Linked DNA regions of Homo sapiens: regions 1, 3 and 4 are each linked to region 2. The links are contacts of gene promoters, found by promoter capture Hi-C in blood cells and fetal thymus (Javierre and others, 2016). All regions are on one chromosome and are shown on one strand. Each heading gives the region's core, a stretch centred on a gene start or on the middle of the fragment in contact. The rest is flanking DNA. Distances are from core to core; before and after follow the strand shown.

Region 1 (2,700 bases), core at 179-2,678, 270 kb before region 2:
ACCAAAAAAATTAGCTGGGCGTGATGGCAGGCACCTGTAGTCCAGCTACTCAGGAGGCTGAGGCAGGAGAACGGCGTGAACCTGGGAGGCAGAACTTGCAGTGAGCCGAGATTGCACCACTGCACTCCAGCCTGGGTGACATGGCAAGACTCTATCTCAAAAAAAGAAAAAAAAATTCTCAAAATATTAGTAAATTGAATCCAACAACACATGAAAAGAATTAAACATAAATCAAATGATATTTATTCCAGGTATACAAGACTGATTCAGCATTCAAAAATAAATTAATGCAATCCATGACATCAAAAGTCTAAAGAAAAGAAATCATATGATCATATTCATTGATGCTGAAAAAGCATTTGACAAAACCAACACCCATCCATGATAAAAAAAATTCAGTAAATAAAACCAGAAAGAGGAGGGAACTTTGTCAGTTTGTTTTTTTTTAATCTACCCAAAAACCCTACAACTAATATTATACCTAATGAAGAAAAGTTGAATGCTTTTCCCCTGAGAACAGGAAAAAGGCAAAGATATCCCCTTTTACCACTATGATTCAATATCATACCAAAGTCCTAGGAAGTGCAATAAAACAAGAAAAGGAAATAAAATGTATACATATTGGAAAGTAAGAGGCAAAATTGTCTTTGTTCACAGATGAGATGATTGTCTGTGTAGAAAATCCCAAAGAATAAAGACTCCTAGAATGAATCAGTGTTTACAGCAATATTGCAGGATATCTGTTAATAGTTGAAAGTCTATTACTTTCCTACGGATATTATAATTTAGGAGGTTGGGGAGGGGGCTCTCAGGAAGGAATGCCGACCGTGACAAGAGAATCTAACTGTTGTTGATTTTAAAAAGTCAAACTCCAGATGGGCACAGTGGCTCACACCTGTAATCCCAGCACTTTGGGAGGCCGAAGCAGGCCGATCACGAGGTCAGGAAATCAAGACCATCCTGGCTAACACAGTGAAACCCTGTCTCTACTAAAAATACAAAAAATTAGCCGGGCATGGTGGCAGGCGCCTATAGTCCTAGCTACTCGGTCGGGAGGCTAAGGCAGGACAATGGCATGAACCCATGAGGCAGAGCTTGCAGTGAGATCGCGCCACTGCACTCCAGCCTGGGTGACAGAGCGAGACTCCATCTCAAAAAAAAAAAAAAAAATACAAAGATTAGCTGGGCATGGTGGTGCACACCTGTAATCCCAGCTACTCAGGATGCTGAGGCAGGATAATTGCTTGAACCTGGGAGGCAGCAGTTGCAGTGAGCCAAGATTGTGCCATTGCACTCCAGACTGGGCGACAGAGGAAGGCTCCATCTCGAGAAGAAAAAAAAAAGAAAAGAAATATATTTGGGGGCCGGGCCCAGTGGCTTATGCCTGTAATCCCAGCACTTTGGGAGGCTGAGGCAGGTGGATCAGCTGAGGTCAGGAGTTCGAGCCCAGCCAGGGCAACATAGTGAGACCCCATCTCTACTAAAAATACAAAAATTAGCCAGGTGTGGTGGTGGATACCTGTAATCCCAGCTACTCGGGAGGCTGAGGCAGGAGAATCACTTGAACCCAGGAGGTGGAGGCTGCAGTGAGCTGAGATTGCACCACTGCACTCTAGCCTGGATGGCAGAGTGAAACTCTGTCTAAAATATATATATATATATATATATATATGGATAAATATTTTGATTTCTTTCAGGAACACACTATCTGTCAAGTGATGTTATACTAGAATCAGGTTGGAATTTGGTATCTTATTACTATAAAGAGTCTGTTTTGTCACTCTTAAGACCTCTGTTTTAATGTTAGTGTTGGTCAGTTGTGCCTGAACTCCAAAGGGAGGAGAATATAATGAGGCATGTCTGACCCCTCTTTCCTGTCATCACATGAAGTAGTTTTTCAGGTTTCTTTGGACCCCCTTGGTAGAAAGGAGGGGTCTCTTCAGTCAGTTGGGAGGCTTAGAATTGTATTTTTGGTTTACGCAACAAACTGTATTACAAATGCATGCAACAACTTTGCTGGAGGGGATGGAGGGGTGGGGGTGGAGGGGATGGGAAGGTGCTGACCTAAGTAACTTGGAAATGAGTTGCACCTCTAAGACTAAAGACAGAAGGAATTGCACAAAAGCACTGTAGTCTAGTTAATAAAGTTGTTTGCTATGGAGGCATGAGCTAATAATTCAGATACTGCTCTACAAATATACTGGAATAGAGCAATTATGTAAACAGTGGCAGATGGTAGAAGCTACATTTCTCAGTGTGTTTACACAAAAGCAAGGGGAGGAAGCTAGAATGATCCATGTGGTGATGGATTATACATCAGTATGAATTCATTCTTAGCTTACTATAGATGCAGATAGCTACATATAGAAATAGTTGTAGATACATGCTGCTGGTTACATATGTGACATGAGTTAGTATGAACACATATACAGGTATGTGTCACTTAATGGTGTTAGAGTCTCATCAATGCACCACAATGGAGCAGTCTCTCATTGTGAGGTATCACCCAGAGTTCTTTGTCTTACAACCAAGAGAGTTGAGGAGTATGGACACAAAGGATGAGTTTGAAGCAAAAGTTTAATAAGTGAAAGAAGAAAGCTCTCTGCTGCAGAGAGGGGACTTGAAGAGGGTTGCCATTTTTACAACTGAATGCCAAGGCTTTTATAGGAAACTGAAGAGGGCCGAGTGTCTCATTTGCTT
Region 2 (2,700 bases), core at 144-2,643:
ACACTGCCTCCTTCCCCAGTCTCTCGGTGCCCGACAATCCCTCCTCAAGAGTCCTCAGCATTTCCCACAGTCATTAACTTTTGCCAGTTTTAATTACCGTAATTAGTACCCTTCAGAAAGCAGCTCTTAGAAAGCGAAGGCTGGGCCTTACTCACCTCCGTCTACCCTACAACAGCAGCTCCCAAACCACTGGTCTCCAGCCCCCGCTGGGTTGGCCTGGGGATTTAGTAACAGATTCGGAAACCCCACTCTCAGGGATTCGGATTTACTGGGGCTGAGGTGGGCCTGGAAATCTGAACGTCTTAAGTTTTCCAGGTTTTCTGCCCCCAAGTTAAATTTTGTAATAAGGCCCTAAACTACAACATCAAGCTGGAAGTCTTGCATATGAAATATTCACGCGTTTTGACAGATGAAACCCGGAGACTGTAACCCACAGGACGCAGGGATTAACACAGGCCCTGTTTCAAGCTGCTAGGATGCTGAGCTCAAACCACAGCCCACAGGGACTCCCACTGGCAGGGGCCAGCGCTTAGGAGATGAGCGGACCCCTTAACTTCAAGGAGAGGGGGAACTTCCCGTGGACCAGAAAAAAAAAAAAAAAACTACTGTTAATTATCACAAAATCACAGGATGACAGAGGAGGCATCCTGTCTTCCAGGCTTCAAAAACACGAAGGATTAAGATGGTGATTAATTCAATCTCCAGTGCAAATAAAAACGCCAAGCCCCTGAACTTGCACCGGCCCGGAACGCGGCCGTTCCACAGCCCGCGGGTGAAGTGCGGCCCGGAAGCCGCGGGCGGGCGACGCGCAAGGCAGCCCAGGCCGCGGGTGGAATCGGGGCGCGGGGGCCCGCGGTGCCGCCGGGCGTTCAGAGCCGGTCCCTCGGGTCGGCCCACGCGGTCGCGCCGGCGCCTTTCACCGCCACGCAGAGGGGCCGTGGCCACGACGGCTCGGCCCTTTCCTTCCTGCGTAGCGAAAATGGCGGAGCGGCCTCTCCGAGCTCCGCGAGCGACCGGGCCTCCGACAGGGCCGCCAGTGGGCCGGACGGGGCCTGGCCAGGCAGGAGCAGGCCCCGTGCAGCCCGCGCCGCCCGCCGCCTCCCAGCGCGGGCGCCGCCTCAGCCGCCCCGGGCCTCAGGCCGCCCCCATCCCGCCTGCTCTCCCTTCCCTGGCCGGCCCGGCGGCAACGCCGCTTACCGGCAGCCGGGCGCGGCGAGCGCTCGGGCTCCGGCAGGTCCCCGAAGAGGTCCATGGCGGAGGCTGGGTGGAGGCGGCAGCAGCGACAGACACTCAGCCCGCGAGCAGCGGCCGGGCTCCACACCCCGGGCGGGCGGCAGCAGCGGGCGGGCGACGGGCAGGGGCGGCCGGCGCCGTCAGTCACCTGCAGGGAGAGTCCCGGACGCCACCAATCGGCGCGCGGCGTGGCCCGGCCGCCCCAGAGGGCTGCGCGCGGGCTGGGCGGGGCGGCTGGGGGCGGGGCGGTGCGCATGCGCGTGGGCCCCTCCCGCGCCCCGACTGCGAGCCGGGCGGACGGCGCCGTCTGGGCCCCGCGGTGTTTCCCGCCTTGGCGAACCCCGGGCCCCTCCTGCTTTTCCTTGGCTGGGGGTGTCCGATTTCTGTCAAGTTTCGTTGAGTTCCTGTCCAAGAAGCCCTGTCCAGAGAGAAACGTCTGAGCTCAAGGGCAGCCCCTGATGCCTGGGAAGGCTTTCTGGAGCTCTTGCCATCTCTTCGGCTCGTCCTTTCACCACGGCGTGCCTGGTTTCTGGCCTGTTTTAGAGACTGAGAAACCGAGGCTTGGATGGAGCGGCCCTGGGCGTCAGGACGGAAACCTCAAAAGATGCCGGAGGGAAAGGAGGCATTCCCTGACTTGTCTGCACCCACTGGTGTCTGTGGGGAGCGGAGAAGAGGGGCTCCTCCTTAATGGTGTCCCCCTCCATGCCTGTAAAGAGAAAGGCGGCCACTGACATCGGGGAGCTGGCCTGGTTCTGCAGCCAGGACTTGGGGTTGGTCTGGCACAAACAGCTAGGCCTGGGTGTTCTCTTTGAATGTGAACAATTTCATAAAACACCAACATCAGGCCGTGATACAGATCAAGAGAAAAAAACAGACCACTGTGTAATCAAGTGTGAACACAGACAAAACAGGAACACTGTCCAAGCCACAAAAGTGACCACATTCCCCTCGTCTTGGCCAATAAGAGTGATTGCTGCTTCTTTACCATTACATGTTTAGCCTTTGTCTCGTCCTCCTGCCGTCTAGATAAGCTTCATCAAGATATCCAATCATGGAATCCTCCTCTTCCTGACATCCAATCCGGAGCAAAGGCCCGTTTCCATAAATGTTTCCCCAAATCAACTAACACAAACCCAAATCTTACACCTCCGTTCCAACATCGTTTACCCAAGTTCCCCAGGTTATGTGGTCTCCCTCCATGCAAAGAGTTTTCAGCCCAGTTCATTCTGGGGCAGATGTATTTCTGACGCTCTCTGGCTGTAGGACATGGAGGGAGCCCAACAAGGCTTCATGCCTCTCATCTGCGTGGCTTCTCACTAGCAACCGTTTGAGATATTCATGCTGCCTCCTCCATTACAGCAGAAACACTCAAGTAACAATGCTTGTAACCGTTAAAGAAAGAGGAAATAAATACAAAAAGCGGCTCAACATTAAAAGGTTTATTTCAGAGAATAAACCTGAGAGGGG
Region 3 (2,700 bases), core at 23-2,522, 280 kb before region 2:
AACATAATTGCACTTTGGTTCCCCCTAGAACAAATTTAAGAAGGACCTAAATTGCTTTTCAAGGCTATTTTAGGAAGTGAACTTGGATCTGACTTTGTTTTTTTTCTTCCTGGGCCTGTGCGGAGGTGGACCATGGGTGCCCATCTTTATTTGGGTTACAAAAATGTGAAGGGGGTGCAGAGGAACAGCGGGAAGAGAGCAGCCCTCCAAAGCATCCCTCTCTGCCCCACCCCAGCCACAATCCTTGGGCCTGGGGACAGTGCTCATGCCCCCACGTGAATCGCTTCCCCACAGACACTCTGACAGGAGGCCGGGGAAGTTTGCTTCCTGTTTTCTGGGGGCAGGGCGGGAGGCAGACAGGGGTGACTGGAGGTGCATGTCCATGACAGGTGGCAGCTGCTTTCCATCCCCAGTGCATCCTGCCATGAGAGCACCTACATCCCAGCCCTGCCCCTGCCACCTAAGATCTCTTCTTACAAGAAGCAGTGCCACCTTTAAAATGTTTCAAATGGTCAGGCCGGGTGCAATGGCTCCCACTTGTAATCCCAGTACTTTGGGAGGCTGAGGAGAGCAGATTGCTTGAGCTCAGGAGTTCGAGACCAGGCTGGGCAACACGACGAAACCCCATCTCTACCAAAAATACAAAAACTTAACCAGGTATGGTGGCGCACACCTGTGGTCCCAGCTACTCTGGAGGCTGAGGTGGGAGGATCACTTAAGCCTGGAGGTGGGAGGCTGCAGCAAGCCAAAATCATGCCACCGCACTCCAGTGTGGGTGACGGAGCAAGACCCCATCTCAAAAAAAAAGTTTCAGATGGTCATAGGTGTGAAAGTATATAATGTAAATAAAATGTTTTAAAAAACAATATTTTTAAAAGTTGTAGCATAGAAGTGATGGCACCAAGCTGCCTTAGTTGAAACCAAATCCTGGCTGTGCCGATTAAAAATGGTGAGGCAGGCTGGGCACAGTGGCTCACGCCTGTCATCCCAGCACTTTGGGAGGCTGAGGCTGAGGCTGGAGGATCACTTGAGCCCAGGAGTTTGAGACCAGCCTAGGCAACATAGTGAGACCTCATCTCTACAAAAAAATTTAAAAAATTAGCTGGGTGTGGTGGCATGTGCCTGTAGTCCCAGCTACTCAGGAGGCTGTGGGGGAGGATCGCTTGGGCTGGGGAGGCAGTAAGCCATGATCACACCACTGCACTCCAGCCTGGGTGACAGAATAAGACCCCATGTCAAAAAAAAAAAAAAAGAAAGGAAGGAAGAAAGGCGAGGCAAGCTCCTCAACCCTCTGGGCTTCAGTGTCATCGCCTGCAGAGTGCTGGCCATGGACACTTCAGGGACTCACAGTGAAGACAGCCCTTGGCCATGTGGCAGGCACATGGCAAACGCTGCTAACCGGGGCCATAGTGATTCACTTTCACAGCAGGGCTGGGAGCTGTGGCTGCACGTGCACGTGAACACATGTGGGTAAATGCTCCCGTCTCTCAGTGTTCCCAGCCCTTCTGCACAGAAGGTCGGGTGAGTCAAAAGGAGAATAATCGGTGATCATAATGATAGGAAACGATCGAGTTTGGGGATTGTCTCCTCCTCCTCGGGCTCGGCTGAGGATAAAGCAGTGCAGTCGGAGTCTGCCCAAGCTGCTGCTATAACAGGCTGGGGACTTAAACAACAGAAGTGCGTTTCTCGCAGCTGTGGAGGCTGGAAGCCTGAGATCAAGGGGTCGGCAGGGTTGGTTCCTTCTGATGCCTCTCTTCTTGGCTTGTCATTTCCTCCCTGCCTCATATGGTCGTCTTTCTGTGCCTGCATCCTAATCTTTTTTTTTTCTTTTGAGACAGGGTCTCGCCCAGTCACCTAGGCTGGAGTGCAGTGGCGCAATCTCCGCTCGCTGCAGCCCCCACCTCCCGGGTTCAAGCAATTCTCCCACCTCAGCCTCCCAAGTAGCTGGGATTACAGGTGTGTGCCACCACGCTTGACTAATTTTTGTATTTTTAATAGAGATGGGGTTTCACCATGTTGGCCAGGCTGGTCTTGAACCCTTGACCTCAGGTGATCCACCCATATTGGCCTCCCAAAGTGCTGGGATTACAGGCATGAGCCACTGCACCTGGCCCTAATCTTCTCTTCTTATAAGGGCACAGTCACATTGGGTTAGGGCCCACCCAGTGACCTCATTTAACCTTAGTCACCTCTGTAAAGACCCTGGGTCCAAACCCAGTCACATTCTGAGGTACTGCTGGTTAGGACTTCAAGATGTGAAGTCACATTCTGAGGCAAGGACACAACTCAGCCAGGACAAGAGCCACTTCCCCAACCATAAAAGTGTCACCCAGGGCAGTGGGCTTTTCTACCTGACCCAACACAGCCAATTTAAGCTGGAATGGAATTAAAGTGTTGTAATTCACGTGAAAAGTCATGGAAAACGGCACTGCAGTAAGGCATTGGCTACGGAAACATCACAAGATTGAATAAAGACCTGCTTTGCATCAACGCACATCATGGCACGTTCTCATTGTGGGAAAATGTGGTTTAATGAGGGAGACACGGGGAGGGGCAGAAGACCTCAGGGAGATTCCAAAGAGGATTCCCAAGCAGGTGCATTCACGGGCATTGGTGAAAGGCAGCAGGGGCTTGTCATCCCGCTTCTGAAAAATGGGCAACTCTCCACTGATGCCTGTGTTCCCCCATGGGGGAGAGTGG
Region 4 (2,700 bases), core at 44-2,543, 320 kb before region 2:
GGAGGAGGAGCCCCATTTCCCTTCTCAGAAAGCTCCAGGAGAAATGCATCTGTGAGGACCCACAGAGAGGAGCCCTCGTGTTGGGGGAGCTTGGAGGCTGGGGCTGGAGCGGGCGACTGCTGGCCTCACCCCTCCACACCCAGGGACCACCTTGTCATCCTCAGCACATCTTTTTCGGAAGTCTTCTGGCCCTGGGGGAAGGCACAGATGGAGAGACCTTCCCCAGACCCTGTGGTGACTTAGCGCGGAGCGTGGCACTGAGCCCACCATGGCGTCTTTCCCATCAGGTGATTAACTGCCTGGTTTCACATCCTCCTGAGTATGGGGATGAAATCAGGCCTGTGCGTCAACGCGAAAGGTCAGACATGCGGTGACGCTAACCAGATCCCGGCAGTGAGTGAAAGGGTGGGCAGGTGGAACACGTCTGGTGGCGGGGGCTCGTCGTAGCTCAGCATCCACCCCCGCCTCCCCTGTGGACACTCGACTACAGCAGCCACACCCCCAGAAAGCCCTAGAACCATCCAGGCTGTGCAGACGGGACTTGGCTGTCCTGGGACACAGGCCAGTTTGTGCACACAGGGCTTCACTGAGCCCCGAAGGCGGCCTCCTGGGCTGCCCATGGGGAAGGGGTGGGGGTGGGGTGGGGGAGAGAGGATGAAGATGTGCCCTTGTGTGTGACACCTCTGGCTGTGGGTCCTGTGTGGGGAGGGCAGTGGGTAGAGGACAGAGCAGATGTCCCCTCCTAATGCTGACCTTCACTCCAGCCCCCAGGCTGGGCCATGGCATCTCCCAGGATCTATCCATTCATCACTCAGATGGTAGACATCTCCCAGGCACAGGCAGGGCCAGCAGCATTCTCAGTCCCCTGTGGGAGGGCCTCCAGGGAGCAGTGGCACCTCACAGCCTTCCCTGTGCATAGTTCGAGGACACCGAGTATCTTGCGGGACCTAAGCACAGGGTGCCCTTTGGGATGCGTCTTGGGACAGGCCTTGGGTCTGAGTCCACTCTTGTTTCAGCTTCTTGTCTCAATCAAAAAATGGAGAATGCACTTTCTGAAAAAGAGACTGAGTTTACCCTCACTGCCCAGGCAGTGGAGGCCGCCTCACTCTAGGGCAGGCCACACTGGCACGCTGTGGTTCCCTACTCCTGCTCGAGTTAAAGCCATTTCCTGGTTTTTGCTATTATAAATGATGGAGCTGGGCACAGTGGCTCACACCTGCAATCCCAGCACTTTGGGAGACCAAGGCATGTGGATCACTTGAGCCCAGGAGTTCGAGACCAGCCTGGGCAACATGGCGAAACCAGGTATCTACAAAAAATGTAAACATTAGCTGAGTGTAATGGGCGCACCTGTAGTCCTAGGGAGGCTGAAGTGGGAGGATCGCCTCGGCCCAGGAGGTTGAGGTTGTGCCACTCCATTCCAGCCCAGGTGACAAAGTGAGACCTTGTCTGAAATAAATGACAACACTATAAGAACTTGTGTACATATATCCTTTGTTTTTTTAAAAAAGATTTTGTTGTTAGACATTCCTGGGAGAAATAATTCATGCAAGTAGGCTTACTGTAGCATGTACCATGAACATTCTGTGGTTCTGGGGGGTTTTTTTTTGAGACAGAATCCTGCTGTGTCGCCCAGGCTGGAGTGCAGTGGCACAATCTCGGCTCACTGCAACTTCTGGCTTCTGGGTTCAAGCGATTCTCCTGCCTCAGCCTCCCGAGTAGCTGGGATTACAGGTGCCTGCCACCATGCCTAGCTAATTTTTTGTATTTTTAGTAGAGACAGGGTTTCACTATGTTGGCCAGGCTGGTCTCAAACTCCTGATCTCAGGTGATCCACCTCCGCCTCTCAAAGTGCTGGAATTACAGGCGTGAGCCACCACGCCCGGCCCATTCTGTGGTTCTTGATAGATTTTTGCCAGTTGTTCCTCTAAAGAATTTTACTAATTTATAATTCTATCAGCAACATATGAAAATGCCTAGTTCCTCATAGGCTCGTGAGTATTGAGTTTGTAGGGATTTTATTTTTGCAGGTCAAAGGAGATTTCCTCTGTAGTTTTAGTTTGCATGTCTTTGGCAATTAGGAAAGTTGAACTGGTCTCTGACAGTTATTTGGAATTTGTTTTTTCTCAAGTGCAAGTTACGTCACCATGACCTTTCCTATTTGTCCTGTGAGTCATTGCCCTTTTTTCCTTTTTTTAAGACTTTATTTTTTAGAGCAGTTTTAGGTTCACAGCAAAATTGAGAGGAAGGTACAGAGATTTCCCATATGCCCATTGGAGGTATTTTTAATCTTCTTTTACAAATTCTTTTTTTTGTTTGTTTGTTTTGAGACGGAGTCTCCCTCTCTTGCCCAGGCTGGAGTGCAGCGGCACAATCTTGGCTCACTGCAACCCCTGCCTCCCGGGTTCAAGTGATTCTCCTACCTCAGCCTCCTGAGTAGCTGGAACTACAGGCACCCGCCACCACGCCCAGCTAATTTTTTGTATTTTTAATAGAGACGGGGTTTCACCATGTTGGCCAGGCTGGTCTCGAACTCCTGACCTCAAGTGATCCATCCGCCTCGGCCTCCCAAGATTACAGGCATGAGCCACTTTGCCCGGCCATAGATTCTTGAAGAATATATATATTAACTATTTGCCATTGTGCTCTAAATATTTTCTTGTTTCGTTTGTGTGTCTTTTGATGTTCATTTTCCACACT

The links. Contacts are between HindIII fragments. The CHiCAGO score rates a contact against its expected background, and 5 or more counts as called.
Region 1: a fragment that was not itself captured here is called in contact with the fragment with the promoter of ILKAP in region 2 in 1 of 17 cell types (activated CD4 T cells); the score reaches 5.5 in activated CD4 T cells.
Region 3: a contact is called between a fragment that was not itself captured here and the fragment with the promoter of ILKAP in region 2, in 1 of 17 cell types (erythroblasts). The highest score is 5.2, in erythroblasts.
Region 4: a contact is called between a fragment that was not itself captured here and the fragment with the promoter of ILKAP in region 2, in 1 of 17 cell types (erythroblasts). The highest score is 5.0, in erythroblasts.

The regions. Positions count from the first base shown.
Region 1 is chr2:237,937,220-237,939,919 of GRCh38, forward strand. No RefSeq gene overlaps it. Among named protein-coding and RNA genes, the nearest start is that of UBE2F-SCLY, 28 kb to the right of the region's middle. The HindIII fragment of the contact is 6,534 bases long and covers 1-2,700 here.
Region 2 is chr2:238,202,302-238,205,001 of GRCh38, forward strand. It overlaps ILKAP (ILK associated serine/threonine phosphatase), which reads right to left and starts at 1,394. Exons shown (of 12, transcript NM_030768.3): 1 at 1,198-1,394. The coding sequence starts at 1,252. RefSeq lists enhancers at 381-440, 1,403-2,275 and silencers at 811-900, 1,021-1,590. The HindIII fragment of the contact is 5,343 bases long and covers 1-2,262 here.
Region 3 is chr2:237,919,440-237,922,139 of GRCh38, forward strand. No RefSeq gene overlaps it. Among named protein-coding and RNA genes, the nearest start is that of UBE2F-SCLY, 46 kb to the right of the region's middle. The HindIII fragment of the contact is 7,029 bases long and covers 1-2,700 here.
Region 4 is chr2:237,886,463-237,889,162 of GRCh38, forward strand. All of the region lies in intron 2 of RAMP1 (receptor activity modifying protein 1), which reads left to right. Among named protein-coding and RNA genes, the nearest start is that of RAMP1, 28 kb to the left of the region's middle. RefSeq lists a silencer at 2,682-2,700. The HindIII fragment of the contact is 6,008 bases long and covers 1-2,700 here.